Regions from separate parts of the Homo sapiens genome. Here region 2 is linked to region 1. The links are contacts of gene promoters, found by promoter capture Hi-C in human tissues and cell types (Jung and others, 2019). All regions are on one chromosome and are shown on one strand. The core of a region is centred on a gene start or on the middle of the fragment in contact, and the rest is flanking DNA. Distances in the headings are between cores, read along the strand shown. Region 1 holds the start of ME3 (malic enzyme 3). Region 2 overlaps ME3 (malic enzyme 3).

Evidence for each region. Contacts are between HindIII fragments. The study calls those that stand out against the background at their distance.
Region 2: a fragment that was not itself captured here is called in contact with the fragment with the promoter of ME3 in region 1 in 2 of the 25 tissues and cell types used here (IMR-90 fibroblasts and aorta).

The regions. Positions count from the first base shown.
Region 1 is chr11:86,669,421-86,674,367 of GRCh38, forward strand. ME3 (malic enzyme 3) reads right to left here and starts at 3,196. Exons shown (of 15, transcript NM_001161586.3): 1 at 2,904-3,196; 2 at 2,342-2,538. The coding sequence starts at 2,524. The HindIII fragment of the contact is 8,709 bases long and covers 1-4,342 here.
Region 2 is chr11:86,520,661-86,525,934 of GRCh38, forward strand. The region is part of intron 4 of ME3 (malic enzyme 3); the gene reads right to left. Among named protein-coding and RNA genes, the nearest start is that of CCDC81, 150 kb to the left of the region's middle. RefSeq lists an enhancer at 2,823-4,022. The HindIII fragment of the contact is 7,481 bases long and covers 1-5,274 here.

The sequences.
Region 1 (4,947 bases), core at 1,946-4,445:
GAGGTTTGATTGACTCACAGTTCCACATGGCTGGAAAGGTCTCAAGAAACTTACAATCATGGCGAAGGCACCTCCTCAGAGGGTGGCAGGAGAGAGAATGAGCGCTAGCAGGGGAAATGTGTCAGGCACTTATAAAACCATCAGGTCTCGTGAGAACTCATTCATTATCACGAGAACAGCATGCAGGGGAACCACCCCCGTGATTCAATTACCTCCCACAGGGTTCCTTCCACAACACGTGGGGATTATGGGGATTATAATTCAAGATGAGATTTGTATGGGGACACAGCCAAACCATATCAACAACTTATTTATAGTACTTGGGAGAAAAAAATTTACATCAGAGGCAAACGACAGGGGCAAGAATGATTTCAGGGGACCAAAACCTAGGTTTTAAAAAAAGACTTAAAGATCTTCCTTCATTTTCTTAACTACTTAACAAAGCAATAAATGCTGGTTGGTAACATGCCAGTAATTCTAAGGCAATTATTTTCACAATGATTGGAGCCTGTAGTGGGAATTTATTGTTTTGCTTTCTACATCCATTCCTCCTCCTTCTGATGACACTATCCATATTTACTGTGAGGATCTATATTCCCTTTATTCCAAGCCAGATGGTGTGGGTGGCCCTACCTTAAACCCCATTTTAACTCCAGGGGTGGGCTCTGACCGGCTTTAATTACTGGTGATTGGTTTTGGTTTGGGAATGGGAAGAGAGAATCTAATCAGAGTCAATAAGGCAGAAGGATTCGCTTTCTGAGGCGTCAGAGAAAGGGTATTTTCTCTTCCCCAAGAGCTACCAGAATAAAAGTATCTTTCTATTCCTGGATGATGTGGTGTGAGAACAGGAGATGGAGGACTGTGGCAATAACGAAGTGAGAGACTTCACTGAATAGAGCTTGAGGATGAAACTGACCTTGCAGAGAGGCAGAGTAGAGAGCCAGAGAGAATCTGCATCTTGAGCAATGCCATCTGGGCTTGTGGTTCAAGCCGTGCCTGCAACCCTTCCTCTAGATTCTTTAGATAAAGGAGCCTTTGTGTGCTTAAGCCAGTTTGTATTTTCTAACGCTTACTAGCAAAGTAATTCAAGGTGATAACAAACACCTTGAACACTTTGGAAAGTGGTAGCGTCCAAACAATTTAAGGTTTCTTTTGGAAAGAGCAGGACTCCAATGTGATAGAGGTTGATTTTGATTTTTTTTTCCTTAGCCGCTTCTATTAGTTCTGTAGGAAACAGTCACAATACTTCACATTATATAGTTGTTCCTACTTCTCAAAAACATCTTTTCCATACAGACTGCCTCACCTGAATTTCACAATCCAGAGTCAGAGCAATTATGAAAAAAAAATTTATTTTGCAGTAATTGTTATTCAGCACTTTATACAGTTTAAAATATGATTTCAAGTTCAGTGATTCATTTTATTGTCACAATAACCAAATGAGATAGAAATGGTGGGTCTATCATAATATCTATTTTAGGCTGGAGAAAGTTGGGCCTCAGATAAGTTAAATGAGATATGTGAGTTAATTTGAGGAGGTAGGGGGAGACAGGACTAAATCTGTCCTTGCTTCTATTTCTCTCACCCAATCCTCTGAACCAAAGATACTAAACTCTATTCCCAAAAACAAATACAAAAGAGCTAGCGGTGGGTTGAACTCGACCAAAGCATTGGAGATCTGGATTCCAGTGGCAGAGCCAGAACTAACTAGCTGGTGACCTTGGGCAAGTTTCCTTTGTCTTGTTTTTTGTAAAAGAAGAGGTTTAAACTAGGATCTCTAATGCTCCTGCAAGCTCGAAAATTTCTATAAGTCTAGACTTTTCCATCCTTGCTCTCAAATTAATCTTTTTCTCAGAATAATAATCATAACCTTATTTATTCTCCCACTGGGTACCAGGCACTGTTCTAACGTACCCCCATTTTCTACCCGCATTTTCTCTTTAGATCTCACGACATTCCTAAGACAATTATATCTCTTTTACAGATAAGGAAACCTAGGCTCATGTAGGTTAAATGAACTGCCCAAGACCAATAAAATTAGTAAGCATCAAGGGGAGAGCTGACCGCAGGTCAGACTGACCGCGAGGATCTAAACCTGGTCTGTGTTGTTACTGCAGAAGAAATTAGGCTCCCTGCATTACTGGTCGCCTCTCTCCACGCATAAAAGGGAGAGGAGGGACAAGAAAGCCAAACCAAGTCACAACAAGCCCCTGCAAGGCAAAAACAGAAAAACCGCTGGAAGGGCGCCCGGGAGGATCCTTTCTGGGTCCAGGGGGCGGGGCGCAATTTTCCGGCAGCCACGGGATCGCAACGCGGGCCGTCCTGCCCTCTGGCCCATTACCTTGTTGAGATGAGGGTTCCTGGTGACATCGTATCCGCGCTTCTTCAGGGGCACAGGGCGCGCCGGGCCAGGCTTGGAGTGGCAGCCTTGGGCGGGCGCGGTGGGTGTCCAGCGCGGGAGGGCGCCGCAGGCCCGGCCCGGCCAGGGAGCCAGCCGCGTGCCTGTCCCCAGCGCGGCACCCATGGTCCTTGGCAGACCTGGCACGGGAGAGAAAGCAAGGTCAGGGCCTCCTTCCAGCCAGCCAGGACCCACGCGCGCTGCGGGGCACCGGGCCTGATCCGGGGACGCGCCCTCTGGGAGAGGGCAGGTGCTCCCAAAGGGTTAAATGTTCCAGCCCCCGCCACTCCTCGGCTGCCACCTGCTCGGCTCCGCGCGGGGCGCCAGGCCTAGCCAAGAGCCAGGCAAAGCGAAACCAAGCCCTGGAAGCAGATCCGGTGCGGGTGACAGCCGGCGCCACCCCTGCCCCCATCCCTGTGAAAAAGAGGCGACTGCGCGGCGAGGGGTCCCCGTACCCCTAATCCCGCGTGGTGGCTTGCCTCGGTCCTCTCCTTCCCTGGCCCACCTGCGCTGCTCGGGGAGCTGAGGTCTACGCGGTCCCGCTGCGGAGCAGGCGGGGTGAGGAGCTGCGGTCTGTGAGTCCTCTCCCGCCAATGGGTGGACCGCGCTGGCGGCCGCGAGCTCGCGGAGCTGGTGAGTTCCTCAAAGAGCGGTCCCACAACCTTTGTTCTCAGTGCCTGGCTTCCCCTGAGGACGCGCGTGGGGCGCCTCAGCACTGCGTGCACGTGGTTTTCCCCAGTGACAAGAAGCAGCTCAGAATGCCCGCCTGAGACTCTCCATCTTGGCAAGACTAAATGCACAGAGGGGGATTTGCGTTTGGGGGTCAGCATATCCTCGCACTCTCCCAACATTCGGGGAAGGGCGTGCCTTCAGGATTTGGAGTAGAAATCCTCAGGCATTCGGTGCTCAGTGTTGCCTTGTGCTGTCCAATATAATAGCCATTCGCCACGTGTGGCTATATAAACGTAAATAAATTAGTCTATATAGAATAAAATTTAACATCCAGTTCTGCAGTCACGCTAGCCACATTTCCAGTTCAAGAGCCACTTGTATGCAGATACAGAACATTTCTGTTTTTGCGGATACTTCTATTAAGCATCATTGACATAGGAGCCACAGTTACTAAGAGGACTTCTGAGGACCCCATGGAGTTTGCCATGGGTTATTGGGGCCAGACAGGGATCTTGGGGTCCATCTAGCCCCAAACTTAATTTTATACTTTCTCCACACAGTAGTCAGGAGATTCCTTTTAAAGCAAACACTTTGTTGTGTGTGGAATAAAATCCAAACTTTCAGGGCCTACAAGATTTCCCATAAACTGGCTCTTGCCAGCCTCTTCAGACTTATCCTACTCTACTCTTTCCTTCTCACTGATCTCTGGCCATACTTGATCCTTCCTGTGTCTTCACCCCACTTGGTTCCCTCCCACTGCAGGGCCTTTGCACTTGCTATTGCCTCTCCTTGGAAGGCTCATACTCCAGCCTTGCAAACCACTACTTCATTCCCACCTCTCAGTTCTCCACTAAGTTGTCAACTCGAAGGCCTTTCCTCTATCCCATTCAATGTCAGCCTGCACTAGGAACTATAGAGTGAAGGGGTTTTTCTCTTTAGAGAACTTAACACAGTCAGTAGCGCGCTTGTTTTTCTGATTGTTTACTGACTATCTCCTGTCTAGAATGTAAGCTTCATGAAGAGAGGCTCTTTGCCTGTGAACCTGTGTGTCCTCACTGCCTAGCTCACTGCCTGGTATGTAGTTGCACAATAAATAGTTGTTAGGTGAAGGGAAGTGGCAGCCACTTTCATAAGGATCGTGAACCCTTAGACTTACTGACAGACAGTTGGCACGGTCCTCTGCTGACACCCCTTCAAAGCTCCCGGTGCCAGCATTAGCCCCGTTGTAAGTACCAAGCAGACATCATGGCCCATAATGTGCTAAGGGGTGCTCCTGCCTGAGTTCAGGATTCCCTCATCCCTTCAGGAATAATCGTCTCCTCCTGCAGTCTCTCTCCTCCCTGTGTAATATCTAATTTTCAACTTGAATGATCTACGTAAAATAGTTATTTCCAAAACAGAATTACAATTACCTGGTAGGAAATAAGGATGGGGCAAAAATACAGCTTTCCAGGCCCCATCCATGAAGATTCTCATCCAGTAGGGTTTACATCCCTGAAGTCAGGTTTACTCTTGGACTGCATATTTACATAAGCTTATAAATGATCTTTTTTTCTGCCTTAAACCAGTTTGTGTCAGATGTGTGATTGTGTGCAACCAATAGTATTAACTAAATCCTTTCAACACTATTTTTATATTGGCACTTCTTCCCACCAGTCAACATCTTTGGGGGGCAGAGATCATGTGTGTTTCCATCTTTGGTATCTAGTGCATGCAAATATTTGGAAATTGATTGTTGAACCAGTTTGCCCTTGCTGAATACAATGACCTTTCCCTCCCCTGGAGGATATCTAATAGGTAACTTTAGTCATTTGAAACCAGGATGTAAACAACAAAGGTTTCCAAACAAGCGAACATAATTTTTATAGCATCAATTC
Region 2 (5,274 bases), core at 1,719-4,218, 150 kb before region 1:
GACTTGAAGCTCAGAAGGGCAGGAACTGTATCCTCCACTTCCACTGATTGCATGGGTCCCCTAATGCAGCCCTGCAAACATAGTGTTTACTTCAGAAAGGGATTTCTGCATAGATGGTCTATTCCTTTCTCTGAATGTGAGAATGGAGCATTTAGAACAAGGGCAATGTAAGTTTTTCTACGACTATATCTAACTATGTGAGTTTGGGAAAGTTACCAGACCTCTCTGAGCCTGTTCCTCAGTCGGTAAGATGAAGAAGGTAGAACAGATAACTTCCAAAACTCTAGAGTTCCATGACTCTAATCTACCAAGGCACGCAGTTATCTGTGACTCGGAGCTAGACAGACCTGGGTTCAAAGCCCAAATCCAACCCTTATTTATTGTGCAACTTTGGCATATTATTTAACTCCACCGAATCTCCATTGCTTATTATTAAAATGTAGCTGTGGCCGGGTGTAGTGGCTCACGCCTGTAATCCCAGCACTTTGGGAGGCCGAGGCGGGCGGATCACGCACGAGGTCAGGAGATTGAGACCATCCTGGCTAACACGGTGAAACACTGTCTCCACTAAAAACTACAAAACAATTAGCCGGGCGTGATGGCGGGCGCCTGTAGTCCCAGCTACTTCAGAGGCTGAGGCAGGAGAATGGCGTGAACCCAGGAGGCGGAGCTTGCAGTGAGCCGAGACTGCGCCACTGCACTCCAGCCTGGGCGACAGAGCGAGACTCCATCTCAAAAACAAACAAACAAAACAAAACAAAACAAAACAAAAATAATAATAATAATAATAATAAAAAAATGGAGCTGTAATCATTAAATCTATCTCACTAAGCTGGTGTGAGCATTAAATAAAATAATACATGTACAAAGTCAGTCGTAAAGGAGCCTCTCTTTAAATTTTCAGGTGGAATTTAAGAAATGTTTGTCAAAGGTATGAATGTCACTGCCTCTCCAAGAGACACAGAATTTCATGCTATGGTTCATGGACAGGGCAACCACATACTTTAGTTTCCCTGTGTCTTGACACAATTATTAACACAATTATTTATTTTTCTTTTCACTCTCAAAAACTCACTGATCTGTAGATCCAGTCTACTAATTTCAAAACTACATTTTCTAGGTGTCTACTATAGAAAGTCAAGCTCATTCTCTTAGCATTATTTTGAGTCCTTTCCCTGTGTAGTCATTAATTAAAATCCTGGTAATAACACAAAGCCTCTGTGAAGTGGCTTACAGTTGGCCATCCATATCCACAGGTTCTACATCTTGGATTCAACCTACTGTGGATTGAAAATACTAGGAAAAAAGGCCGGGCATGGTGACTCATACCTGTAATCCCAGTACTTTGGGAGGCCGAAGTTGGTAGATCACCTAAGGTCAGGAGTTTGAGACAAGCCTGGCCAACATGGCAAAACCCCATCTCTACTAAAAATACAAAAATTAGCTGGGTGTGGTGGCACGCACCTGTAGTCCCAGCTACTCAGGAGGCTGAGGTAGGAGAATTGCTTGAACTCGGGAGGCAGAGGTTGCAGTGAGCCAAGACTGCGTCATTGCACTCCAGCCTGGGTGACAGAACAAGACTCTGTCTCAAACAAACAAACAAACAAACAAACAAAAAACCAGATTAAGAAAAAAAGGCCAATTAAAAAAATGGTAAAAAATAACACAAATTAAAAATGTAGTGTAATGACTATTTTTTTCTTTTTTTTTTTTTTACATTAGGTTCTAGGATATATGTGCAGAATGTATTGTTACATAGGTATACATGTGCCATGGTGGTTTGCTGCACCTGTCAACCTGTCATCTAGGTTTTAAGCCCCACATGCATTAGGTATTTGTCCTAATGCTATCCCTTCCCTTACCCCGCCCCCTCCTTGACCCGCCGACAGGCCCCAGTGTATGTTATTCCCCTCCCTGTGTCTGTGTGTTTTCACTGTTCAACTCCCACATGTGAGCGAGAACATGTGGAGTTTGGTTTTCTGTTTCTGTGTTAGTTTGCTGAGAATGATGGCTTCCAGCTTCATCCATATCCCTGCAAAGGACACAATCTCATTCTTTTTTATGGCTGCATAGTATTCCATGGTGTATATGTGCCACATTTTCTTTATCCAGTCTATCACTGATGGGCATTTGGGTTGGTTCCAAGTCTTGTAACAACTATTTACGTAGAATTTACATTGTATTAGATATAGTAAGTAATCTAGAGATGATTTAAAGTATATTGTAGGATATGTATGTTATATGCAAATACTATACCATTTTATATCAGGGATTTGAGCATCCATGGATTTTGGTATCCGGGGGGAAGGGGGTCTGGGAGGTTGATTATATATCACCCACAGTCTTTTGCCCTTCATGACTTTTTGGTAGTCTTCAATTCACTCTTTGCCAAACTCTATGGAGGGAGACTTAAAGGTGTTAAACCAGCAAACCTCAGTCCTACTGTTGGCTCCTTGAAGACCTGATCTTTGGACTGAGGCAAGTCATGTCATTATTGCCTTAGTTGCCATATGTAAAAAGTAAGAAAGAAGAAAAAAAGAAGCCAACATTTATTTAGCTCCCATTGGGAACATTTTATAAATGCTATGCCATTTACTTACTGCCACAAGTCTGGGAGGTATATGTTGTTGTCCTCATTTACACCTGAGATTAACGAAGCTCAATAAAATGAGGTAATATCACTGAGGTAAGTTGGCAAAGTAGTAAGGGAAAGCAGGTAAGAAACCATTGTGCCTTCTTGCCTTTCTTGTTGGAGTTTCAGGTGATGATTGTAAAACACTAAGCCCTATAGAAGACAGGCTTCTATTAACACAGAGAAAAACTGAAATAGGTTTCTAATTGTTTGTACTCTTTTTTTTCTTCCTGGAATTTGCAAATCTCAGATATTGCTCTATCCTCTTTTTTGATTATGAGATTTTATTTTTGGCAGAAAATAATTGTTCCAGTTGAGTTCCAAGAGTTGAAAGAGTTTCTCCATCTGTTCTTCTTGAATAAGAAGAATGCTGATAAGGTGTGCAAATAGCTGAAGAAGTATACATGCAATTTTCACTAAAAATCGTGAGTACATGGAAAAGCTGATGAAGAAGGCCTTGAACCTCCATCACATCATTAGCTGACTGAACATTTTATAATCAGGAGGGGGAAAAAAGGCGGAATAGAAGGAAATTTCAGCTGAAATTGACACCTCTGTCCAAATAGAATATCACTTCAGAATCTAAAAATTCTAATTCCACAAGTCACAGATGTTTCCAATTAGAACAGAGAAAGTTAATGTAGTTTCAGCTGTTACTTAGAATATTAAAATGTGCCAAGAAACTCAGAGAGAGTTGGTACAAAGAAGTTTCTTTTTCTACTAAAATATTTACTCCTTCAGAAATAATAATCAGAGGCTTTAGGCCCCTTTCCCTGAAAAGTCACACTTAACACTCTTCACTTTCTTTTATGGCTGTGAACATGGCACAGACCCACACATGCCTCCACTTTATAAAACAAACACCTTCCTGACGTCTAGAAGGCCTCTAGTGAATCTGGGTCTCTGGGCAGTAAGTTGTTTGGAATGTGTCTCTGTTCTAATACAAACATTTGATATCCAAAGCAAATAATCATCAAACCTGCGATTCTGAAATTACTGTCCCCCTGACTCAGAGGCGCAGCCAATGAGTCATTTATTTACATGTAACTACAAGATAAGGAGAGAAAAACATCCTATCTGCTTGTTTTTCCAAAGCAGGTTTGAGAAGTAGTCACACATTTTTTTCCACTGAATCATAAATCTGCAGCCTCAGTTTAAGAAATAGGCTAGGAGCTCAGAACCCTGTGAAGATACACCAAGATAATAGTCCCCTAAACCAAGAAAAAGCTGAAATTGTAAAAGCTCGAATCCATTTTATGCTAGCATTTATGAGGCAGTTCTATGGGCAGGCATCTGAGTCCTATCCTGAAGTAATTTGTAAGTGGAAGACCCCACCCACTTTAATTTACCAGATAAACATTTCTGGAGCTATCATTGCATATTAGTTATGAAAGCTGGAATTTAATAAGAGAGAACAGAATGCAGTTTTCAAAGTGCACAGAAGTTCACTGGGAAAACATATGCTTAAACTTCAGGGACCATGATCCCTGGAAGCAAATGTAAGAGACAGCTAAGTGCCTGGAATTATATGTCTGAAAGGATTACTCATCAGATGCAATTAAGCAGGGGGAAGGGGAGAAGCACACATTTGATCTAATGTGTTGTTTTGACTAAGTTCCGCCTCCAAACTACAAATCCCTCGAAAGGAAGGAATCTCAGAACATTCAAGATCAGGAAAGTTAAAGGCCAAAAAAGTATTTGCTTTGAAATGATTGAGAAAAGATGTGTGTGTCTCTGGTCAGGGATAAGTTCCAGTGAGACCCACTCCAACTTGCAAAACATTGATATTATTGGGAAGCTTCAGAGCAGACAGTCAGACAGACTTAGACCCAAATTCTAGGTCATCTGGTTAGTAGTGACCTTGACAAATGACTACAGTTGAGCCTCAGTTTTCTCATCTGTAAAATAGGGGCAATGAAATGTTTCCAATAGAGCAGTGACAATTAAAGATAATATATGAAAAGTAGTGAGCACAATGCCTGATACATTTCTATTCAAATACCTAATTCTTTGAAGAAAAGTTTCTAACAGAAACTTTTGATGTTGACAGAAAACAGTCAAACCACAACAGCAAGAGAGGAAGAAAGGAACAGAGGATCCACAAAATAACCAGGAAACCATTAAAAAAATGGCAGTAGTGAGTCCTTACTTATCAATAATTACTTTGAATGTAAATGAATTAATTCTCCTATCAAAAGGCTAACGTGGCTGAATGGTTTAAAAAAAAAAAAAAAGACCCACTATATTTTGCCTACAAAAGATTCAGTTCACCTTTAAGAACACACAGAGGCCGGGTGCAGTGGCTCACGCCTGTAGTCCCAGCACTCTGGGAGGCCAAGGTGGGTGGATCACCTGAGGTCAGGAGTTCAAGACCAGCCTGACCAACATGGTGAACCCCATCTCTACTAAAATACAAAAATTAGCCGTGTGTGGTGGCAGGTGCATATAATCTCAGTTACCGAGGGAGACCGAGGTAAGAGAATTGCTTGAACCCAGGAGGCAGAGGTTGCAGTGAGGTGAGATCGTGCCATTGCACTCCAGCCTGGGCAACAAGGGCAAAACTCTGTCTCAAAAAAAAAAAAAAAAAGGAGAGGGTGGAGCCAAGAGGGCCTAATAGGAACTGCTCCAGTCTACAGCTCCCA